Linked DNA regions of Homo sapiens: region 2 is linked to region 1. The links are contacts of gene promoters, found by promoter capture Hi-C in human tissues and cell types (Jung and others, 2019). All regions are on one chromosome and are shown on one strand. The core of a region is centred on a gene start or on the middle of the fragment in contact, and the rest is flanking DNA. Distances in the headings are between cores, read along the strand shown. Region 1 holds the start of TNNT1 (troponin T1, slow skeletal type). Region 2 holds the start of ISOC2 (isochorismatase domain containing 2).

The links. The method cuts DNA at HindIII sites, captures the fragments that hold promoters and counts their contacts. A contact is called where the count stands out against the background at its distance.
Region 2: the fragment with the promoter of ISOC2 here is called in contact with the fragment with the promoter of TNNT1 in region 1 in 3 of the 25 tissues and cell types used here (lymphoblastoid cells, mesenchymal stem cells and thymus).

What each region holds. Positions count from the first base shown.
Region 1 is chr19:55,147,553-55,153,104 of GRCh38, reverse strand. TNNT1 (troponin T1, slow skeletal type) reads left to right here and starts at 3,899. Exons shown (of 14, transcript NM_003283.6): 1 at 3,899-3,944. It overlaps TNNI3 (troponin I3, cardiac type), which reads left to right. Exons shown (of 8, transcript NM_000363.5): 8 at 1,188-1,338. The coding sequence ends at 1,271. The HindIII fragment of the contact is 19,018 bases long and covers 1-5,552 here.
Region 2 is chr19:55,460,215-55,465,766 of GRCh38, reverse strand. It overlaps ISOC2 (isochorismatase domain containing 2), which reads left to right and starts at 4,125. Exons shown (of 6, transcript NM_001136201.2): 1 at 4,125-4,255. It overlaps C19orf85 (chromosome 19 open reading frame 85), which reads left to right and starts at 1,016. Exons shown (of 2, transcript NM_001386794.1): 1 at 1,016-1,385; 2 at 1,800-2,766. The coding sequence starts at 1,213. The coding sequence ends at 2,295. RefSeq lists enhancers at 573-1,295, 2,018-2,740. The HindIII fragment of the contact is 25,257 bases long and covers 1-5,552 here.

The DNA.
Region 1 (5,552 bases), core at 2,650-5,149:
CCAAAGTTACCGGGTGTGGTGGCTCGTGCCTGTAATCCCAGCGCTTTGGGAGGCCAAGGCGGGCGGATCATGAGGTCAGGAGTTTGAGACCAGCCTGGCCAACACAGTGAAACCCCACCTGTAGTAAAAATACAAACATTTGCTGGGCGTGGTCGTGGGTGCCTGTAATCCCAGCTACTTGTGAAGCTGAGGCAGGAGAATTGCTTGAACCCGGGAGGCAGAGGTTGCAGTGAGCCGAGATCTCACCACTGCACTCCAGCCCAGGCAACACTGGGAGACTCCATCTCAAAACAAAACAAAACAGAACAAAAGTTAGCTGGGCATGGTGGCACACACCTGTGGTCCCAGCTCCTCAGGAGTCTGAGGTGAGAGGATGGCTTGAGCCCAGGAAGTTGAGGCTGCAGTGAGCCGAGATTGCACGACTGCACTCCAGCTTGGATGAGGCAGCCAGACCCTGTCTCAAATAATAATAATAATAAAATAGAACAATTATAACAGATTGTAATAAAACTCATGAATGTGGTCTCTTTCTCAAAATATCTTATAGCACTGTAATCACCCTTCTTTTCCTTGTGATGTAAAATGACAGTGCCTATGTGCTGAGATGAGGTGAGGTGGATGACATAGGCATTATGACCTGGCGTTAGGCTACTATTGACCTGAGAATCCATCAAACTTATGAATTGTTTATTTCTGGAATTTTCCATTTAATATTTTTGGGCCATGGTTTACCTCAGGTAACTGAAACCACACAAAGTAAAATTGCAGAAAAGGAGGGACTACTATAATAAGAAGAGAAGGAAGGAGACAGGAAGGGCATAAGGCAGACAGGAAGTGGAGGGGAAAGATAGGAAGTGCAGGAAGGAGACAGGAAGTGGAGGGGAAAGACAGGAAGTGCATGAGGGAGACAGGAAGTGGATGGGGAAAGACAGAAAGTACATGAGGGAGACAGGAAGTGCTGGGGAAAGACAGGAAGTGCATGAGGGGGACAGGAAGTGCATGAGGGAGACAGGAAGTGCATGGGGAAAATTGGCAGGGATTATCTTGAAAAGACAGGAAGTGCTCCAGAACTAGATACTTAGGCATCCAGGGTAGAGTGGCCCCACAGGCTGGAGGGAAGACAGGGATTCTTGAGAGACTGGAGACCAAGAAGAGACCCTAACCTCTGACTCATCGCCATCCTCCAGGAAAACCGGGAGGTGGGAGACTGGCGCAAGAACATCGATGCACTGAGTGGAATGGAGGGCCGCAAGAAAAAGTTTGAGAGCTGAGCCTTCCTGCCTACTGCCCCTGCCCTGAGGAGGGCCCTGAGGAATAAAGCTTCTCTCTGAGCTGAAAGTGACTCCATGTCTATTACCCAGGGCTTAGGCAGGAGACAGATGGGAAGACTGCAGGTGGGGCTCCCCCAAAGCCACACAGCAGGTTGGGGACCAGATGGGTCTCCCATGTGAAGCACTCTTGGCTGTGTTATTGAAAAGAATCCCGGGGTTCATGAATTTGGAGAGCGGAGCTTTGTTTCTTAAGAAGCGGATCACAACCTGAAGACCAGAAGCATGGCTTCTTGCCAAAAAACAAAAGCAGGCACTTTAAGGGAGGGAAGGGCAAGGCAGGAATTTATGCTGAGTGGGTTAGCTAAGTGCACGTATTCAACTGGTTATAGAAGGAGCTATGAATATTCATGGACAGGTGGACACATGGACACACGCATGTGTGACAAGCAAACACTCATTTTTTTTTTTTTTTGAGACGGAGTCTTGCTCTGTCACCCAGGCTGGAGTGCAGTGGCACGATCTCAGCTCACTGCAACCTCTGCGTCCTGGGTTCAAGCCATTCTCCTGCCTCAGCCTCTCCAGTAGCTGGGATTACAGGCATGCACCACCACGCCCAGCTAATTTTTGTGTTTTTCGTAGAGACGGGGTTTCACCATGTTGGCCAGGCTGGTCTCGATTTCCTGACCTCGTGATCCGCCCTCCTTGGCCTCCCAAAGTGCTGGGATTACAGGCGTGAGCCACCGCGACTGGCCGCAAACACATTTTACATGCATCCCACCTTCACTTGGTGGTGGAGGCTTAACATTTAAGTGCATTCCATTGAATGCATTCGTATCGAAACACGAAGCAGGGATATGAAGACACTCAGTGCACAGCCTCTGTCAACAGCCAGAACCAGTCCGTGGTCTGCGGCATCTTATCAGGAGAAAGTTACTGAAATCAGTCTCTTGTTCAACTAATGCTGTAGTTATGCCTTGTGGAACAGGGGGTTCAGCTAGTCAGCATCTGGCAATGGATGGCTGCAATGGTTGTAATATTGCTTATCTTGAGGCCGGTGCTTGTTTAGCTGCTAGAAAAAGGAAAAGCCTTGTGGCAGTTGGAACATAGTCGATTATATAAGTGTAGGGATGCGTGGCTTAACCCTTGCCTGGCATGGCCTTAGGTCTTGTTTATAATTTGGTATCTTATTGCCACAAACAGTTCATTCCATCAGTCTTCTGATCTCTATTGTCACAGCTCCTCTGGCCCATGTGGAGTGCACAGAGATGCCAAGACTAAAGGTCAAAGAGAGAGAGACACAGAGAAACAGACAGGCAGAGAGACATGACCGACAACAGAGAGACTGAGTTGGGAGTAGAGAGAGTAGGAGCCAGGCAAAGACCCAAAGAGAGAGGGAGAAAATACCACAAGATGCATAGAAGGAAGTGCAAAGAAAGGAGAAAAGAGAGACAGAGATATACTCACAGCAAGGTGCAGAGACATGGAGACCCTATAAGAGATGGAAATGGAGAGCCACAGAGGGGGAACTGCGGGCACTAAGAGAGACATGGAGAGAACTAGAAAGATAGAGACGTGAACACAGACACAGAGACCCAGAGCCAAAAAGAGACAGAAATGGGGTCATAGGTGGACAGAAATGCACAGAGAGACTGTGAGCCCCCACAGACACAAACGCTGAGAGGGGCAGACATGCAGAGACACCCACAGAAATGCAGAGACAAAACCACCCGGAGACACATGCCGAGAAACACACTGAGGGGCTCAGAAAGCGACAGATGCAGAGAGAGCCCAAGACAGACCCAGCAAGGGGCCCCGAGAAATGCACAGAAACACAAAGACCGAGACCACCAGAGACAGAGGTACGGAGAGGCGGGGAGGGTGAGGAAGCCTGCTCTCCAGGGCTGGCTTGAACCTAGAACTCAAGGTCATGGCTTGGCTGGGAAGCGGGAGGGGGATACCAAAAAAGATCAGCGTTAGATGGAGGTGGGGAGGGAGGGTAGGTTTCACCCTAATTGACACCCCACCCTCCCCCTCCCCCTCCCCACACCTGCTTCCCGGCTTTAGTGCCTGTTGTCACCAGGATGGAATCCTGGCGGCAGACAAAGGGGTGGGGGTGGGAGGAGGAGACAAAAAGATGGACAGAGACAGAGGAGGAGACTAAGAAGTAGAGACAGACACACAGAGACACACAGATGGAGAGCCACAGAGACAACAGAAATGGGGGTCCAGAAAGAGACCTAGATAGAAAGAGGGAACAGAGAGAAGAAAACAGGAAACATTCCTTATAGCCCATGTGTCATTAGTAGGTCCTCCAAGGACCTACTGTGTGCCGGGCATGGGGACGTCAAAGCACAGGGAGCTATAAGGGAGGTAGTTGGAGCACCACGGGAGCCTGGGGTGTGGGGTGGGAGCAGGGGCGGGGCTCCTGGGCCATGCAGATGGGGTTGGCATGGGGTTGGGGAGGGGCCCACGGAGGCTTCTGGACTCTGAGTGTGGAGCCAGGGGCAGCAGGGCTGTCTCTGAACTCCCAGGCTTGTGTTTGAGCAAAGGAATTCTCTCCCCCTCCCTCTCCCCTCGGGGCGGGCCCGAGCCTCCAGCTATAAACTCCCCGGAGCTTCAGTGCCCTCAGCAAGGCTCAGCCTCAAGATTCACAGCATCTCAGACACAGCCTAGGTAAGGGGCTCTGCGGAGCCCTGTGGTCTTCAAAAACCATGTCCTTGGGGGAGGGGGCAGGAGGCAGGTGGGGAAGATGTCGGGTGTGGAGAAATGGTGCAGAGGTAGGTGGGGCATACAACTGGAGGTCTGGGAACTTGAGAGGCTCAGACTTTAGGGGGACTCAGGATAGAGGGGAAAATACTAGGATTTGTGGGTTACACAAATCCTAACCCGGGGCTGCCAGGACTTGGATGTCCCAGAATAAAACCTCCTAGGATCTTGGGGTTCTGGGAATCTGGGGGAAATCTCAGCAGTCAGGGATATCTGGACTTGGAGGTCAAACAATCTGGGTGTCAGGATTTGGGGCCTCAGACTCTGAGGGTATCAGGAATTGGGGGGGTCTCAGAAGAAATTGGGGTTTTGGTAGTGGAGGGCTCGGAATCTGAGACATTATGATAGAAAGCATGAAAACTTAGAGTGCCATTATCTGGGGTATCATGAACTGGGCCTCCGAGTTTGGGTATCAAGATTTTGGGGGTCTCATATTCTTGAGGTTTCAGATTTTAGGAGGTCTCAAGACCTGGGGGTGGTCTTAGGATGTCCCGGCCCATATCTGGACTATCAAGAACTGGGATTTCAGAATCCAGAGCTGTGAGGACTTGCTGGCCTCAGAAACACGGGCATCATAAATCGGGGTCTCAGAATCTGTGGGTATTGGGATTTGGGGCTAGGCACCCTGTGGCCTAGGGTGTCTCAAAGACTTTGAGGTCTAAGAATGTAGGGGTCAGGGTGAGGTCTACGGACAGAAGGTGCCCTTTATGCCCCTGCCCCCTACGTGATGTATGGGAAGGTGAAAGGGGAGACAGGTGGGGAGGAAACCAGCCAGTGGGGTGGGGCGAGTGGGAGAGGGGATGCGGGTGACTAATTCTCCCAGAAGCCCCCCTTCCTCAAATCCCTTCTTAGGAAATGTCCTCGGTTTCACCATCTATGACATCCCCCCAAAATAGCTCCTGGGGGTGGGGCAGCTATTGTCTTCAGGCCACTGTCCCTTCTCAAATGCCTCTTCCTAATCCCAACTGGATCAGGTTCCCATGGACTTGTCATAAGACAAAAGAGGACAGCTGTGCTGAGGGGGCAGGGTCTGCAGCCTCCTGGCTGTGCCAGGACCACACCTACCAAGGTCTGTCCTCATGCATGCTTTAGGACAGCCGGCCCCCTCCCTCAGACCCAAGAGTCCAGACCTGAGCCCTCCTCCCTCAGACGCAGGAGTACAGGCCCCCAGCCCGCTCCTCCCTCAGACTCAGGAGTCTAGACTCCCAGCCTCTCCTCCCTTAGATCCAGGAGTCCAGGCCCCAGCTCCTCCTCCCTCAGACCCAGGAGGCCAGGCCCCCAGACCCTCCTCCCTCAGACCCAGGCGTCCAGGCCCGCGGCCCCTCCTCCCTCAGACCCAGGCGTCCAGGCCCCTGGCCCCTCCTCCCTCAGATCCAGGAGTCCAGACCCCAGCCCCTCCTCCCTCAGACCCAGGTGTCCAGGACAACCCATCTCAGTCTCAGGAGTCCACACCCACCCTCCCACACACCCCCCAGCCCCTCCTCCCTCAGACCCAGGAATCCGGCCCCCAGCCCC
Region 2 (5,552 bases), core at 2,876-5,375, 310 kb before region 1:
TGGTCTCACCATGTCCTGCTGACAGGAAACTGGACCTCTGGCAACATCACTGGCTGCACTCAGCCCCAGCTCCCAATATGCCCCCACCTGCCTGCTGGCCCCCACCCTAGGCCTGGTAGGACCTCAACTGCTGACCTTGCCCATAGTGCTGCTGGCCAGTGAGCGGGCCTGGGAAGCAAACTCATGATGTCAGGTTTAAATCCCTGCTTCAGGCAGGAGAATCAGCGCGTGCGGTTCTAGGTACTGAGCCGTGGTCATTTGTTACATCAATTTCGGGAAACATCCTGGCTTCCCAGAGCAGACCCCCGAGGGTGGGGGTCCAAGCAGAGACTGAGGCTGTCACACCCGGTGCTCCCCTACCCAACCTGAGACCCAGGGTCCCCGCTCCGGCCAACACCCTTCCAGAAACAAGGGGACCCGGCCCAACCTCTGCCTCCCACAGACACCAGGGGTCCCAGTGCCTCAATAAAACACCCTGGGGGAGACTGCGCCCTGTTCTCCCGTCCCCTCCCGTCCTGCCACACCCTTCCCCCTCTCCTCCCTCACTCTGCTGCTCAGGATTCTATGAGCCCCAGGATTTCGGGGGTGACCCTCCAGGAGCCAACCCCTCCTGCTGGCTGGAGACCTCGGCCCGCACCAGCCCCTTTGGGAGCCTCGGTTTCCCCTCCTAAGGTGCTGGGCTGAGCAGAGGGAGGGAGGCACAGGTGTGTCTGAGGGTGGGTGGGCAGATGCAGCCCAGCTCCCCTCCCTCCCAGCCCCCTCCCCACGGCTCCAATTAAGGGTCCTCCACGCTCAATCGCTGCATTTGACTTACTGGCGGCCTCGCCTCCCGAACGAGGCCTTTGTTCCCTTAATTGGCCATCTCCAGGCACCATTCTCTGCCCCCCGCCGACGCACGCCAGGTCCATATCCCAGGTCCAACTATGCGCTAATTGGGCACTTAGAGGGCCCCAGAAAGCCCCCTCCCCTCCCTGTTCCCTGCCTTCCTATATTAGCCCCCACCTGCCGCTCCCTCAGACTTCAGGTCGGGCTCCTGGGAGGTGGGGACAGGGTTAGGGCACAGTGGGGAGGCCTTGGCCCAATTCCCAGCCCTGCCTCCTCCCCAGCCCGGGGTGCCTGGGCCTCCAGAGTCCCCTGCCCCTCCCTGCTCACAGATTTGGGGGGTGCTTTGGTCAGCAATATTGTGGGGAGTTACTCCAGACCACCCTGGCCATGCACCCCGGGGTCCCCGAAGGCCCTGGGGTCTCCGAGCCCGGCCCCCGGGAGCTGTGTGCCTTTGTGAGCGGGGCGGCCGCCCACATGCTGCGGGCCCTGCAGCCCCGGCGCACCCGGCCCCCCAAGAGGCGGCCCAACCACAGAAGGTTTCTGCACAACCAGATCTGCAGGTGAGGGGGCTGGTGGGGAAGGTGGGCACGGGACGGGGAAGAGGGGAAGGAGCAACCAGCACCCTTGGCTGGGGGAGACCAGGTACAGACAGAGAGGAGCAGCCCCCAGGGCTGGATGCCAGCAACAGTCAACGTGCATTTATTGAGTGCCTACTGTGTGCCAGGCCAGTTAGCAAAGCAGATAAAGTTCCTTGCTGTCGTGGAGGTTGTGTTTTCATGGGGGTGGCGGACGGTCAGGAATCACCAAAATAAATAACTAGCACGGTGTGATGCGACCACATAGGTGACCCTTGCAAATATGCTGGCCGGGGGTGGTGGCTCAAGCCTGCAATCCCAGCACCTTGAAAGGCCGAGGCAGGAGGATCGCTTGAGTTCAGGCGTTAGAGACCAGCCTGCTCACATCTGTCTTTACAGGCAGTTCACCAAGATTGAGGCTGCCACCCAGCGCCTGGCCCTCTCCATCCTGTCCCAGGAGGCACCTCCCCAGAGACCCTCGCTCCAAAAGCCACCCCCACCGCCTCCATCCCCCTTCCTGGGAGTGGCCTGTGCTGTGGCCCCCACTGAGGCTCCCCATGCCAGCGCCAGCCTGAGTCTCGCTGCCCTGGACACCTCTACCCTCGACCTCTTTGACAACATTGCGCTCACCCCAGAGTGTGCCTCAATGCCATGGGACCCCTCCTCTGGTTCTGATGCTCCCCTGCCAGCGCCGGGTCTGTCCCATCGCGACCTGGGCCAGCTGGACCTGAGGCAGGTCCCACATTTCTGCGGCCCCCTGCCCCTTCCCCAGCATGCCCTGGGGGAAGAGGCTGATCTCGTGGCTCCCGACTGGGGTTGGGTGGACTGCTGGGAGGTGCCTCGTGCCTGGGATTCTCAGGGGATCCCCGAGGGTTGGGGGACCAGCTCCCCATGAGGCCAATCACAACCCAGCCCAGAACCCAGGACAAGCCAGAGGCCCCTCCACGACGGCTCTACAGCCCTCTCCAGGAGCCCCCAACCTGTCCACTCCCTTCCTGGCAGCCCCTGGGAAAATAAACCAACCCAGACCCCCACTTCAGACCACTGCCTCAGGGGTCTCCTCCTGGGCCCAGGGGCCCCACCTCCACCTCTTCTTGCTTTCCTGCCTTCCCCCTTCCTTCTGCCTAGCCCCATCTGGGCATCCACCCCTCACTCTCACCCAGGCTCACCTCTGCCTAATGTCTGCTCTCCTGTCATTTATTCCCAAAGATGTATCGAGCGCCTACTATGGGCCAGGCCCAGGTCTAGGACTTGAGGATTCAGCTGTGAACGAGGCAGACGGGACCCCTGCCTCAGGGAGCTCCCTGTTCTGTGTGCATGTGTGTGTTTTGGCGGGGAACAGACAATAAAAGAGTATATCCATGCATTTTTCAAAAAGCAAGATTCATTTCCAATTCAGATTGGAGTTAGTGCTGAAAAGAAAATAAAACACAAGGCCGGGTGCGGCGGCTCACACCTGTAATCGCAGCACTCTGGGAGGCCAAGGCAGGCGGATCACTTGAGCCCAGGAGTTCAAAACCAGCCTGGGCAACAGAGTGAGACCTCCATCTTTACAAAAAAATTAAAAAATTAGTCAGGTGTGGTGGCGCATACCTGTGGTCCCAGCTACTCAGGAGGCTGAGGTGGGAGGATCGCTTGAGCCCGGGAGGTTGAGGCTGCAGCAAGCTGTGATCGTACCATGGTACTCCAGCCTGGGTGATAGAGCAATTTTTTTCTTTTTTTTGATGTTTCAAAAAAATTAAAAACAGCGACCTGATGGAAGGGCTACCTGACACCAGGTGGTCAGGAAAGGCTTTGAAAGCCTGGAAGGTTGGGCCATGGGGAGTCCTAGGATTCCAGGCTGAGGCAGCACACGTGCAAAGGCCCTGCGGTGGGACATTGAGGGAAGAGCAAGAGGAGACCCCTGTGGCTGGAGCGGAGTGAGCAGGGGGAGTGGTGAGAGGCGAGGTCTGCACGGACCAGGAAGGCCGACCATGAATTGGGAGGAGTTTGGATTTATTCCAAGACAGATAGGAAATTCTCTCTTTCTCTCAACCTCCATTTCCAAGCACAGAGTCTAAATTATTCTAAACACCACCCGAGGAGGCAGGTGCTGTACAGATGGGGAAACTGAGGCAGCACAGAGCGCAAAGGACAGGGGGGCGTCAAATTCCTCACTTGATCGCTCCCTCAGCCAGCCCCTTCCTGGAAAGTGCTTGGGTATCTTTGTAAGCCTCCGTTTCTTGAGAGAGGGCCAGGTTTCGAACCGCAGACATGCCTCTACTCTAGGTAAGACCCCTCTCTCTCTCTCCCGGCCTCGGCGGTCTGCTCTGTGCAATGGGGCCGGCCGAGACGCCCTCTCTCCAGCCAGAGTCTGAGCCTTCGGAGACCACCGCGCGACTCCGCCCCGTCGGCCGCCACTCACGCCCTCTACGGCTCTCCATTGGCAGAACGACCTGCTGCCCCGCCCCCACGGCGCCTTTGCGAGCTAATCATTTTCTTGAGACTGACAGCCTTGCCGGCACCGCCCCCCCTGGGGCGGGAGCAAAGCAGCTGCATATGCGGATTGGTTGAGAGGCAGGGGGCGGGGTGAGTTGGTGAGCGCCGATTGCGGGCAGAGGCAGTGGCACATGCGGATTGGCCGGAGAGAGCGGCGAGGCAGAGCATGATGAGTGTCGATTGGACGGCTGGGCCCAAGTGGGCGGAAAACGGACGGTGCAGGGGGTGGGCCACGTGTCCAGCCCTAACGAAACGGTAACCAGCCCTGGGAAGCCCGCAAGAGGCCTCAGCGGTGGCCGTCCGAGAGCCGAGAGGTGAGGGTGCCCCCGCCTCACCTGCAGAGGGGCCGTTCCGGGCTCGAACCCGGCACCTTCCGGGTAAGTCCTCTCTCGCTGCTGGCGCTATTTGGAGACCGACCTTACCGCCTAGCAGATGGGGAAACTGAGGCTCTGCCTGGGCGTCCCGGGCCAAGGTCACAGGACCAGAAGGAGGACTCCACCTGGCCCCGCCAGAATTGGCTGGCCAGAGATTGGAAGCGTCCCCGGGTCGCGCCTGCCGCCTCTGTAACAGCGCTGGGGGGTGGGCAGGTTTAATCCCCATTTCTCCGACGAGAAAACTGAGGCTAAGACAAAGAGAAACTTGCCCAAGGTCACACAGCCAGGAAGTCCGGGCTCCAAGGCCGGGTTTCCGAGACCGGGTGGGGAAATCAACGGCCCTACCCCGCCCCCTGTTGCCGCCCACCTCCAGCCACGCCCCCTTTGGCCTTGGGTACCCTCCACCCAGGCTGAATCTCTCCTCGTTCCGCAGGACACGCCCAACCCTCTCCAGCCCAGACCTCCCCTTCACATCTCTCTCTCTCACACACCCACCCTCACCCCAATTTTTCATCTCCCAAAAACCAGTTCCCCTCCCCGGGATCCCCTATGAATCTTCAGATCATGCCCCTCGCTCGACCAGAAACTGGGGGCCTTTCTCCCCGACTTTCCCCACCGTCCCAGCTGCCCCTTCCTGACTCTCCCCTGTCCCACTGGGCCCCAGCGCCGACCTCCTGCTCTCTGGCCTTTTGCCTCCAGTTCAACCGCACGGCGGGGGCCTGAAGCCATCTTTGTATTTTGCATTTTGAACACTTTTTCTGGAATAATACCACAAACGCAGAAAATCGAACGGTTTGCAAATACACAGCTTAAATAAATATTTATAAAGGGAGCACCCTGGTGTAAACAAGTATCCAAAGAAAAAAGTCAAACATGCGCCACATCCCAGGATCTCCCGCCGTCGTCGTTTCCATCACTGTGGTCCAAGGGCAGTCACTGTCCTGGCTTCTGACGCCATAGATCAGTTTTGCCGGGTTTTGGCTTTATGCCAACCCTTTATTGTATATAGTATTGACTAGACAACTTGTTGCACATTGTCCAGAATTCAGAAGAAACAGAATAGGACCCAGTGAAAAGGCTCCTACAGACTTCCCCGGTGCCTGGTTCACCCGCCTGAGTCTCCCGTTTCTTGCTTGTTTGCCAGAGATAGCAGATATAGATATAGGCAACACAGACACATTTTCCTCTCCCTTTTTTCTTTGGCACAAAAAGGAGCATTCCATACACACTGTTCTGCTTCTTTTTCACTTCTCTCAAACATGTTTTCGTATTGTTACTTAAAGAGCTTCCTCGTAATTTT